3 separate regions of the Homo sapiens genome follow, and regions 2 and 3 are each linked to region 1. The links are contacts of gene promoters, found by promoter capture Hi-C in human tissues and cell types (Jung and others, 2019). All regions are on one chromosome and are shown on one strand. Each heading gives the region's core, a stretch centred on a gene start or on the middle of the fragment in contact. The rest is flanking DNA. Distances are from core to core; before and after follow the strand shown.

What was found. Contacts are between HindIII fragments. The study calls those that stand out against the background at their distance.
Region 2: the fragment with the promoter of KRTAP5-3 here is called in contact with the fragment with the promoter of SYT8 in region 1 in 1 of the 25 tissues and cell types used here (liver).
Region 3: a fragment that was not itself captured here is called in contact with the fragment with the promoter of SYT8 in region 1 in 5 of the 25 tissues and cell types used here (bladder, mesenchymal stem cells, mesendoderm cells and 2 more).

The regions. Positions count from the first base shown.
Region 1 is chr11:1,832,485-1,836,239 of GRCh38, forward strand. It overlaps SYT8 (synaptotagmin 8), which reads left to right and starts at 2,506. Exons shown (of 8, transcript NM_001394072.1): 1 at 2,506-2,715; 2 at 2,812-2,975; 3 at 3,402-3,500; 4 at 3,642-3,755. The coding sequence starts at 2,622. RefSeq lists silencers at 35-244, 305-364 and enhancers at 467-1,082, 1,083-1,696. The HindIII fragment of the contact is 28,273 bases long and covers 1-3,755 here.
Region 2 is chr11:1,606,396-1,610,724 of GRCh38, forward strand. It overlaps KRTAP5-3 (keratin associated protein 5-3), which reads right to left and starts at 2,068. Exons shown (of 1, transcript NM_001012708.2): 1 at 1,170-2,068. The coding sequence starts at 1,990. The coding sequence ends at 1,274. The HindIII fragment of the contact is 8,426 bases long and covers 1-4,329 here.
Region 3 is chr11:1,675,342-1,679,670 of GRCh38, forward strand. No RefSeq gene overlaps it. Among named protein-coding and RNA genes, the nearest start is that of FAM99B, 8.1 kb to the right of the region's middle. The HindIII fragment of the contact is 6,262 bases long and covers 1-4,329 here.

The DNA of each region.
Region 1 (3,755 bases), core at 1,256-3,755:
GGAGGCTCAGGCAGGGAGGGCGGGGGATTCCCAGATCTGGGAGGGGAGACCCGAGAGCCCCCAGCGCCCAAGGGTCTCCAGGGCACTGTCCCCGGGAGCCATGAGGGAGGCCGGGTCCCGAGGGGCGGACGGCGCCACCTGGTGGCCATGCGCCCGCTGCACCTGCACCTCCCTGGGGTCCCGGCGGTCCGGAGGGACCCCGCACCTCCCCAGGCTTTGGGACCCCCAGCATCGGCAGCCAGCGCCCCCAGGGTCCTGGGGTTCTCCGGAGCAGCTTCTGGGTGGCCCCTGTGCTCCTCTGGGGACAAGGTCACCAGGCTGGCCCGGGAGTGCCGCTGGCCGGCCGCGGCAAATCACTGCAGGGGAGCTCTCCCCGCCCGGCCCTGACTGTTCTTAGACTAAAGGAGGGGGGACGCCAGCAAAGCGGGGGCACAGGGGAGGGGCGCACGCACACGCACACGCACACATGCCCGCACTCACAGATGGAGATTCTGTATTGGCAACTTATCCGGAATCTCAACCATAAAAATCTGGAGTGAAGCTACTTTAATCTCAGCATGTATACAGGCTCTGACATTTCAAAAAGAGAAGTTGCCTTGAAACTCCACGTAGGGAGGAGGCAGTGGCCTGTTTGAATCTGGCCGGCACAGTCCCGCTCCAGGGACCCTGCGGACCCAGCCCATTCCATCAGCCACCACCAGTAGGAGCGCTCCGCCAGCCACGTGTGGGACGCCGGACCCACCTGGGAGTGTCCCCCAGGAGCTGAGGGGCTGCCGAGGCCCGTGAGCTTCACTGCACACCCACACTGCATCTGCAGGGGACTCACCCAAAGGGTCCCCCGAACTCGACAAGCTCCGTCATTTGTGAGGCCCAGTGCAGAATGAAAATGTGCAGCATCTTGTTCCAAAATTAAGAATTTCAAGATGGCCCCAGCACGCATTAAACCAAGCAGGGACCCCTCTGAGCATGGGGCCCTGCGCACAGGGTGCAGCCTGGAAAGCTGGCCCTGACCTCCGCATCTCCTTTTTGTACCTATAATCCCTCCATTGTGCTGGCCCCTGTGTTCTGGGGACAGGCTGGGCTTCCCAGGCCATGCTGGCCTCCAGAGCCACAAAACTAGAGCTCCCAGCCTCGGTCCACTCGTCTGTAAAACACCTGGCCTGCTGACCTCACAGGGTCAACATGCGTGTGGGGCTGGAACCTGGACCCTCCCTCCCCTCCTTGAGCTGCAGCCCCCTCATCTGAACACTGGGGGTTTGGGTCCGTTCTGGGAGTGCAGCTGCCTCTCCCAGCCTGCCAGGGAGTGGGGCATTGATGCTGTGTGCGCGTGCGTGTGTGTGTGTGTGTGTGTGTGTGTGTGTGTGTGTGTGTGTGTGTGTCTGGAGTCATGGCAGGGTCCCTTTCTGTCTGTCTCCTTGCTCTGCCCCAGACTGGGGGGCTGCAGAGGTGAGGGTATCTGGCCTCAACAGCTGCTTATTCCCGATGGGATGGCCTGGGCTGGGCCCCTGAGGCCAGGCTGACTTGGACATGGCAAGAGGGGTCCCAGGCTCTTGTGGGCAAAGCAGGGGAGGCGCCAATGTGGAGGAACAGAGTCTCCTGGCTGGCTGCTGCTCTCTGGAGCGGGTGGAGTCAGGGAAGAGCTGAGCTGGGGAGTCACCCTGGGCCTGGGGTCACCGTAGGCCCCATGTAGCACCCTGGTTCCCCTGCCTGTAGGTGACAGGAGCCAGCCCAGCCAGGTGTGCTCCCTCCCCAGGCCCTAGGCAGGCGGGTACAGGGGCCAGCAGCTGCGCCCGCCCCACCTTCCTTCCCACCCACATGCCGAAGGGTGGCCAGGCAGGCAGGTGGACGAGTCCAGGCAGCGGCTGAGTCAGTGTGTGTGGAATGTTCTGGCCGCTCCCAGCTGCACCCTGCCCCTACCTGCCACCACCTCACCTTCATCCTCAGGCGCTGCGGCCCTGAGCCCCTGCCAGGAATGCACCTTTAGCCCAGGCCTGCTCAGTGAGCTCCGCCGACAGCCAGCCCTGCTCCTCCCGCCATGACCCTGCAGACCCCTCTGGGCTTCCAAGTTCCTGGGGGCTGCAGTGAACATGCTCCACCTGCATGGCTGGCAAACCATGGTGGGCCCCAGCTGTGGTGCGTGCTGGGGTAGAGGCAAGGAAGTGATGGGACCGCAGAGATGAGACCCCCAGGGATGAGATGGGACCCCCAGGCAGGGCCCAGGGTCCAGGGCCCAGGAGAGAGAAGCAGGGAGGGAGAGAGCTTCCTGGTGGAGGACGCATCCTACAGTGGGGGCAAGGGTGCTCTGAGGTCCGGTGAAGGCAGGGACTAGGCTGCCCAGGCCCTGCCTGCTTGGCTGGGGCTGGGGGCTGCTGGGAGGTGGCTGGGAGGCTGGGCCTGGGCAGCTAAGCTGGAGCTTTGGCCAGGGTCCAGAGCCTCCCTCCCTTCAGCTTCCTGCTGCACAGAACCCTCGCCCCTGGCCACCCCGTGCTGCCTCCTTGCCCTGGCAGACCCAGCACTGGCTGCTGCTAGTCAGATGGGGTAGCGGGCAGGGGCCGGAGGGGCCACCCTCCCAGCTGACCCAGCCTCCTGGGCCGCTTCTTCCAAACCAGCAGGGTAGAAAGATGGGGCACCCACCAGTCTCTCCCAGTGCCCCGGCCCCAGCTGGCACCACAGCTATACCTGGGCTTATTCCAGACCTTGTCGCCGGGACCCCCTGTGAGTTGTGGGATTCCCAAGAGGGGTGTGGGGATAACCCAGCCAAGTGGGGGCTGCAGCTGTCCACAGATGCACTCAGCCTGGCCTCTACCCCAGGGCCCCGCTGGGCTCTCATTGCCGGCGCCCTTGCCGCGGGCGTCCTCCTCGTCTCCTGCCTCCTCTGTGCTGCCTGCTGCTGCTGCCGCCGCCACAGGAAGAAGCCCAGGGACAAGGAGTCCGTGGGTCTGGGCAGTGCCCGCGGCACCACCACCACCCACCTGGTGAGGAGCGGCTCCTTGCTCACTCAGTCCAGAGAGGGCTTGAAATCCAGGCTCCAGAGCCCAGGGCAGCGAGGCGAGTTCAGCCCCAGGGATGGTTTAACCCCCACAGAGGCAGGGCGTTGAGGACCTTCCTGGCAGGGAAAGTGGGTGAACAGAGGTGAGAAGGAGGCCATGCAACAGGGGCTGCCCCATGGGCCCGAGGGAGCCACAGCGGGTTCTTGAGGAAGGCAGGGGGTACCCCAGATGCCACGTTTTGGGTGGGTTTGGCCGGTCTCACAGAGCGAAGCCGACGATTTGTGCCTGTTGGGTGGCCTGGCCTGGAGGCGGGGGGTCTTGACCCATGTCATGCAAGGGCTGCCCGGGAGCCCAGGGCTCTGATGAGGCATGATGTCAGCACCACCTGCCCCTTGTCCCAACTCACTCCAGGTGCAACCTGATGTGGATGGCCTGGAGTCCAGCCCGGGGGATGCTCAGCAATGGGGGTGCCTGCAGCTCTCCCTGGAGTTCGACTTTGGAAGCCAGGAGGTGAAGGGCCCCGCTGCGCAGGACCAGCGGTTCTGCGAGTTTCCGGAAAGGGTGACGGGGGAAGGGCAGACCCCATGCCCTGGGTGGTGGGGAGCTGACAGGGCAGGGGCCCTTGGCTGAGCCCACCCCGCTGGCTCCCAGATCAGGGTGGGCCTGAGGCAGGCAGCCGACCTGAGGCCTGGGGGCACCGTGGACCCCTATGCCCGGGTCAGCGTCTCCACCCAGGCCGGACACAGACATGAGACAAAAGTGCAC
Region 2 (4,329 bases), core at 818-3,317, 230 kb before region 1:
CTGACAGAGGCAGCAGGGAAGGGACAGGTGGGCACCTGAATCAGAAGTCTGTGTAGGGAGGTGTCACAAGGAGGCAGGAAATAGATGTCTGTAGGAAGCCTTCCAGGAGATGCTGAGGGATTTGGCGACTTGTGGGGGAGAGAAGCCCAAGGGGCCTCCCAATTCTGTATCCTGGAAGATGGGAAAGACGGAGACGCCCCAAGCCAAGTGGATGCCACGGCTGAGTTGTGCCCCCTGGTTCATATGTTGGAGTCCTCAACGCAGTATCTCAGAATGGCACCTTATTTGAAGATAGGTCTTTACAGGGGTGATTAGTTCAAACATGGACCTAATGGAGTAGGGTGGGCCCTAGTCTAATCTGTGTCCTTATGCAAAGAGATGAGGACGCAGACACACACAGAGGGATGAGTACGTGAGGATATAGGGATGGCGGCATCAGTAAGCCACGGAGGGAGGCCTCAGGAGGACCCGGCCCTGAGGCACCTCGATGGCGGATTCCGGACTCCAGACTGTGAGACAATCCACTCCTGTTGCTTAAGCCACACGGTTTGTGGAGCAGCCCTAGCAAACTCACACAGCAGGGTACGGGGGGTTCCCAAATGCCTGGGAGTGCAACTCTGTGGAAAGTGTACATTTCTCTAATCACACAGAAGTTGAAACAAAAGAATCACAATGCAAACTCGTGGGAGGTGCAGATCGTATTTATTTAGAAGATCTAGCCTAGGCACTTACAAGGCGAAGCCCTGGGGAAAGAAACAGGGCCAGGTCGGAGGTAGAAGAGGAGACTGGGCGCCCCTCCTCCTCAGGAGAGGATCCTGGGGTCTCCAATAATTCCGAGTCCTCTAGGTCAACTCCAAAAGCAATCGGAGCGGTGGCAGCTCAGGCAGGATGAAGACGAAGCGGGGAGGAGCCAGGAGGTTGCGGGGACCGGGGAGAGGCGGCAGCAGGTCGGAGGATTCCAGTGTCAGCGTGTTTCCAGCAGGCTCACAGGAGGGGCCCAGGGATGTGGGATCTTGAAGCCCTGAGAAGGTTGAAGTGGTGGGGTCAGGAAAGGAAGACGGGATTCCGGGAGGGTTGATGGGCAGGACCCAGCATGCCAGAAGCCCTCATGACCTCAGAGGCTGAGCGGCTGAGTACTGAGCCCTGGACGCTAGGCTGCCTTAGTCCAGAGGAGGACAGATTCAGAGACGTGCTTCAGGAATTCAGGACACAGCTGCAATCATTCCTGGAGAGCCCGGATCTGTAGGACCCACTGAGGTTTGTGGGCAGAGCCTCAGATCTTGCACTGGCAGCAAATTGGGACACAGCAGCTGGACTGGGAGGAGCAGGGCTTGCAGCAGCTGGACTGGCAGCAGGATGACCCACAGCCTGAGGAGCAGCAGCAGGGCTTACAGCAGCTGGACTGGGAACAGCAGGGTTTGCAGCAGCTGGACTGGCAGCAGGATGACCCACAGCCTGAGGAGCAGCAGCAGGGCTTACAGCAGCTGGACTGGGAACAGCAGGGCTTACAGCAGCTGGACTGGGAGCAGCTGGGCTTGCAGCAGCTGGACTGGCAGCAGGATGACCCACAGCCTGAGGAGCAGCAGCAGGGCTTATAGCAGCTGCACTGGGAGCAGCCACAAGAACCGCAGCCCCCCTTGGAGCCCCCACGAAATCCACAGACCCCCTTGGAACCCCCACAGGAGCCACAGCTGGAGGAGCAGCAGACGGGCACACAGCAGCTGGAGCCACAGCCCCCCTTGGAGCCTCCACAGGAGCCACAGCCCCCCTTGCAGCCCCCACAAGAGCCACAGACCCCCTTGGAGCCCCCACAGGAGCCACAGCTGGAGCAGGAACAGGCTGGCACACAGCAGCACACGGGCTTGCAGCAGCAGACAGGTACACAGCAGCCGGAGCCACAGCCCCCATAGCCGGAGCCACAGCCCCCACAGCTGGAGCCACAGCCCCCACAGCTGGAGCCACAGCCTCCAGAGCAGCCAGAGCAGCCCATGGTTCTGGTGGGTTGAGGGTGGAGCAGGTAGAGGAGCAGGTGAGAGGGAGGTGTGCAGGTGTGGAGTTCTCTGAGCCCGGGCTCTTTATATTCCTGCCCAGGTGTTTATACTGAACACGTGAATACTTCTGTTGTTGTTTCTGCTATTTCACATGCACAAGTGTTATTTTTAATCTCTCCACAATCCCATGAGCCACCATCAGCTCAAGCCAAGCTGTCCTTTCCTTGGTTTCTAAATTTGGCCTCTTCCTCATAGGTGTTTCCCTTTGTTAGAAGACACTGGGCTCCCTCTCCAGTGGGTGTCCCAGGAGCCTGGGAGGCGGTGGTTGCTTGGCCGAAGGGTGGACCATTGTCCTTGGTGCTCAGGGCTCTCCTCAGCGATGCAGACCCTCCACCCCCTGGCATTGGTGTTTATATCAAGGATGGTCATTTGGTAAAAAATAAAATAAAATAAAAATTAAAAAAATAAGCTGAAAGAAAGGCTGTCTATAGGTTCCACCGCTTAAAAACTTCAAGTATAAATATTTTGTCAAATCTGTAAAACAAAGTTTTGAAGAGCATGGATTTGAGTGTGGCCCTGGTTCTCCTTTGTCTTTCTTACCTCTTCCTCCTGCGGTTTGGCTCACTCCTCCAGACACGGATTAGACCCACGTTCCCTTCAGGCAAGCTGGGCTCACAGAGGGAACAGAGGAACAGGACCCTTTCTAATGCTTTTGAGTTTTCCTCTATTAATTCTTTGTAAAAATTCTACAAATCAATGGATATTCTTCAAGTTTATTCTTCTTGAAGGCTACAAAAATTTTGATTAGCCAACCTCTCTAACACACTTTTATTTTCTAAAAGATTAATTTTAATATTTTTTTTTTGAGAAGGAGTATCGCTCTTGTCACCAGGGCTAAAGTGCAGTGACGCAATCTCGGCTCACTGCAATCTCTGCCTCCTGGGTTCAAGCAATTTTCCTGCCTCAGCCTCCCCAGTAGCTGGAATTACAGGCGCCCACCACCAGGCCTGGCTAATTTTTTTGTATTTTTAGTGAAGACAGAGTTTCACCATGTTGGGCAGGCTGGTTTCGAACTCCTGACCTCAGGTGAACCACCCGCCTCAGTCTCCCAAAGTGCTGGGATTACAGGTGTGAGCCACTGCACCCAGCCAAATTTTAATTTTTTATTAAGGTAAAATTTACATGCAGTGAAAAAAAATTTTTTTTCTGAGTCTCCCTCTGTCACCCAGGCTGGAGTGCAGTGATGCAATTTCAGCTCACTACAACCTCTGCCTCCCGAGTTCAAGCAATTCTCCTGCCTCAGCCTCCCAAGTAGCTGGGATTACAGGCACCCACCACCACACCCAGCTAATTTTGTATTTTTAGTAGAGACGGGGTTTCACTATGTTCGCCAGGCTGGTCTCGAACCCCTGACCTCAGGTGATCCACCTGCCTTGGCCTCCCAAAGTGTTGGGATTACAGGCATGAGCCACCAGGCTTGGGCTGCATTTTTTTTTTTTTTTTTTTGAGACGGGGTCGCATTCTGTCGCCCGGGCTGGAGGGCAGTGGTGTGATCCTAGCTCACTGCAGCCTTGGTCTCCTGGGCTCTGCACATATTTTGAGTGTACAATTCCATGAGTTCCGCTAAACATGTACTCGTGTGCCCATCACTCCAACCATGACCAACTGCTTCACCCCCAGAAGTTTCCCTTTCGCCGCCTTCCCTTCCTGCCCATCGCTCCAGGCACAGCTCTGCTGACCAGTTGTGCCTGTTGTTGAATGTTGCAAAAATGAAATCATTAAAAATGTACTCTGGTTTCTTTCCCTCACGATGTTATTCTGTGTGTCAATGATTTGCTCTTCTTCTTTTTTTTTTTTTTTTTTTTTTTTTGAGACAGGGTCTTGCTCTGTCACCCAGGCTGGAGTGCAGAGTGGTGCGCTCATGGCTCACTGCAGCCTCGACCTCCTGGGCTCAAGCGATCCACCTGCCCCAGCCTCCCAATGTGCTGGGATTACAGGCATGAGCCACCACGCCTGGCCTTCTTCTTCTTTTGTAATCACCGCATAGTGTTTCTGTAGCAGGGCGAGCCGCAGACAAGAACCCCTCAGACACTGAATTGTAGAAGGAAAGGGCTTTATTCAGCTGGGAGCATTGGCAGACTCAGGTCTCCAAAAACCAAGCTCCCCAAGTGAGCAATTCCTGTCCCTTTTAAGGGCTTACAACTCTAAGGGGGTCTGTGTGAGAGGGTCGTGATCGATTGAGCAAGCAGGGGGTACGTGACTGGGGGCTGCATGCACCGGCAATCAGAACGGAACAGGACAGGACAGGGATTTTCACAATGCTTTTCCATACAATGTC
Region 3 (4,329 bases), core at 971-3,470, 160 kb before region 1:
GGAAGGGAAAATGCAAGCCAATTGTATGTGGACTGAAAGAAGGCTACAAAAGGATTAAAACATTAAGCCACAATGCAGCTTTCTGACAGTCAAATGATCAACATACAGAAATATATTTTCCAACCACAGGGCAAAAAAAAAATTAGAAATTAAGTCACAAAAGGGATAGTGCAAATATTGTATGTTTGGAAACCAAATAGTCTATTACCATAAATTTGGGGTTAAAGAGATAATCATAATTATTAAAAAGTAATAAAAACATTGCACATTAGAAGGACGGGGCAGAGTGAAGCAGCTGTTACTGAGAGGTGTACGGTACTAAATACATTTCTCACAAATTATGAAATTGGATGTCTACGCAGATGTTTTGCCTGTTTCTAACGGAGCTGTTTTTGTCATTAATTTTTTAGTTCCTTTTCCATTCTGGGTTCAATCTTTCATCAGTGATATGGTTTGCAAATACATCCTCCAGATCTGCGACTTATCTTCCGATTTCTTGTTAGTGTCTTTTGAAGCACACATTTGAAAAAAATTCGATGAAGTTCACCCTATCAATGTTTTATTTTACGATCTTATTTTTGATGTCATGGCTAAGGAATTGCACCTGGCCCACAGCTTCCTTGACTTTCTCCCATGTTTTCTACAAGTTTTAGTTCCCGGTTTTCATGTAACCCTCTTTGTGTTAATTCTTGTGGAGGACATGAGATAGGGTTCCAAACTTCTTTCTCATGTGGCTATCCAGATGTCCCAGCACTATTTGTGGAAAAGACTGTCTGTCCCCCGACTGAGTTCTGTTTGTTGCCTTTGTCAAAAATCAATTGACAATCTACATAAAACGTTTTTTTTTTTTCCTGGACTTTTGATCCTGTTTCATTGATCTGTGTGGCTACAGTGAAACCAATACGAGACTGTCTTTGTTACTAAATTTTGTTCTTTTAAAAAATTGTTTTATCCATACCGGGTCCTTTAAGTTATTTTTGTCATGAAGTTTTTAGCTCTTTTTTCTATTCTGGATACAATCTTTTATCAGTTATATGATTTGTCAATATTTTATCCTAATCGGTGGCTTTCCTTTCATTTTCATTTGTAAATATTAGGATCAATTTGTCAAATTTTGCACAAATGCCTGCTGGATTTTGACAGGGATTATATTGGATTTACAAATTGCCATGTTAACGTGATTGTGCCTCTGGCCCATGAACACGGGCGGCCTCCCCAGTTGCTCATGTTTTCTTTAATTCCTCTCAGCAGGATTTGGGGGTTTTAGCATTTAACTCTTATACTTCTTTGGTTACGTATATGCTTCTGTATTTTATTCTATTATTATTTAAAATTTTCTTAATTTCATTTTCAGATTGTCTATTACTAATGTATAGAAATTCAGTGGATTTTTGTGTATTGATACTACACTCTGCACCTTTGCTGGATTTTTTATTAGTTCTAACAGGAGTGTTTGTGTTTATTCTGCTTAGGGCTCTCCAAAATTCTCAAATATGTGATTTTTTTTGTCTTTGACTAGCTTTGGGAGACTCTCAGCCACCATCTCTCCAAGTAGCTTTTCTTCCACGATTTCTTCTTTCCTCTTAGGATCATAAGTGGACATTCACTAGAGTGTGTTGAAGTGTTTTAAAGGTCTTGGATGCTTGATTTAGTTCTCTCTCTTTGTCTTTTTTCTCTTTGTGTTCATTTTGGATGACTTCTACTCACCTGTCTCCCAGTTTATGGATTCTTTCCTTAGTTCTTTCCAGTGTGTTAATTAGCCTATGATAAGAATGTTGATATTGTTGGTGGGGGGGCGGTGGTGGAGAGGCTATTTCCATTTGACTTTTGTTTTTTTTGAGACAGGGCCACGCTCTGTTGCCCAGGCAGGAGTGCAGTGGTTCGATCACAGCTCACTGCAGCCTCTAACTCCTGGGCTCAAGAGATCCTCCTGCCTCAGCCTCCAAAGTAGCTGGGACTATAATCCCAGCACTTTGGGAGGCCAAGGTGGGTGGATCACCTGAGGTCAGGAGTTCAAGACCAGCCTGACCAACATGGTGAAACCCCGTCTCTACTAAAAATACAAAACATAGTTGGGCATGGTGGCACACGCCTGTAATCCCAGTACTGGGGAGTCTGAGGCAGGAGAATCACTCGAACATGGGAGGCAGAGGTTGCAGTGAGCCAAGATCACACCACTGCACTCCAGCCTGGGCAACAGTGTGGGACTCCATCTCAAAAATAAATAAATAAAAACAGTGTTCTAGTTTTTTTCAGTTTTCATTTATCTGTTGAAATTCCTCACCTGTTAATGCATATTGACTAAACATACCCATCACAGTTATTTTTATTTATTTATTTGTTTTTTTGAGATGGAGTCTAGCTCTGTCACCCAGGCTGGAGTACAGTGATGTAATCTCAGCTCACTGCAAGCTCTGCCTCCCGGGTTCGAGCGATTCTCCTGCCTCAGCCTCCCGAGTAACTGGGACCACAGGCACCTGCCACCATGCCCAGCTAATTTTTGTATTTTTAGTAGAGATGGGGTTTCACCTTGTTGGCCAGGCTGGTCTCGAACTCCTGACCTCATGATCCGCTCACCTCGGCCTCCCAGAGTGCTGGGATTGCAGGAGTGAGTCACCGCACCTGGCCTGTGAGTTATTTTAAAGTCCCTGTGCAACAGTGTCAACATTGGAGTCATCTCAAAGTTGGATTCTATTAATTGTTTTATCACATGGCCATGGTTCATTTTACCTTCCTTCCTTGCTATCTCATAAATTTTAATTGAATTTCAGACACTGTGTCCAGAGAATAATAGAGACGGAGGCAGGTAGCCTTTATGCCCCAGATGGCTTTGGATCCCCTTCTTCTGGGTATGAATGTGGGATCTGTGCCAGCCTGGGCCATGGGTGGGCCGGGTCAGGGTGAGGTGTGGCCGCCATTACCTCAGGGCGTCAGAGACTGCGAGGCCTCCTAGGCAAGCTCACCCTTACCTGGTGCTGAAGCCTGGGGCTGGGGACCAGGGAGGATTTTCTTTTTTCTTTTTTTGAGACAGAGTTTTGTTCTGTCGCCCAGGATGGAGTGCAGTGGCGTGATCTCAGCTCACTGCAAGCTCCACCTCCCGGGTTCATGCCATCCTCCTGTCTCAGCCTCCCAAGTAGGTGGGACTACAGGCGTGTATCACCACGCTGGGCTAATTTTTTTGTATTTTTATTAGAGATGGGGTTTTGCCACGTTGGCCAGGCTGGTTTCGAACTCCTGACCTCGTGATCTGCCCGCCTTGGCCTCCCAAAGTGCTGGGATTACAGGTGTGAGCCACCACGCCCGGCCCCAGGGAGGGTTTCCTCAGTGCCCCTACAGCTCCATTGCAGCAGGCCCTTCATGCCTGAACCACAGAGGTGGTTTTCTCCATGTTCTTGCCCCTTCGTTCATTTTACGCAACAGATATCTATTGAGCAACTGCCATGTGCCAGACACTGAGCTCAAGTATGGTTTATTCTAGCGAGGCAGGAAGAGCAGTGGGTCTATTTATGTGATTCTGGAAATTCACAAAGGATGAAACCTATGACTACTCAAGTATTAGCTGCAAAAGCTGGTAAAGTTCAACAAAGTTCGAAAGCTTGCTATGGTTCAGCATTCGTTTATGTTAGAAAAAAAGAAAAACTTGAAAAGCTATTAATATCTAACTTCTGAAGAATATCCCTCGGGAAGTGATATTAAAAGTCACATAGAAACATTAGGAGAAGCAGCTACTACCTGTCTTATTAAACATTGTTTTGAATGATAGCATTGGGACACACTAAAAACTAAATACAGTTCAAAATATTTAAAAGGAAGAAATGAAACAACTAGAACAAAAGCTGAGTAAAGATACAACATTATAAATCAACGGATTTTCTAGACACTATGTAGAGAAAATACCACATGACAACATTTCCCATTTATAATTTTAAAATTATAGAATTCTATGGGCAGCCGGGCACAGTGGCTCACACCTGTAATCCCAGTACTTTGGGAGGCTGAGGAGGCCAGGTCACTTGAGGTCAAGAGTTCGAAACCACCCTGGCCAACATGGCGAAACCCAGTCTCTACTAAAAATACAAAAACTTAGCTCGGCATGGTGGCTCATGCCTATAATCCCAACTGCTTGGGAGGCTGAGGCAGGGGAATCACTTGAACCCAGGAGGCGGAGGTTGCAATGTGCCAAGATTACACCATTGCACTCCAGCCTGGGCAATGAGAGTGAAACCCCATCTCAAAAAAAAAAAAAAAAAAAGCCTCCTACCCATAAGATGTAAATAAATGGAGAGATATAACAGGCTTCTTGATTGAGAACACTTACAACTTCAGGTC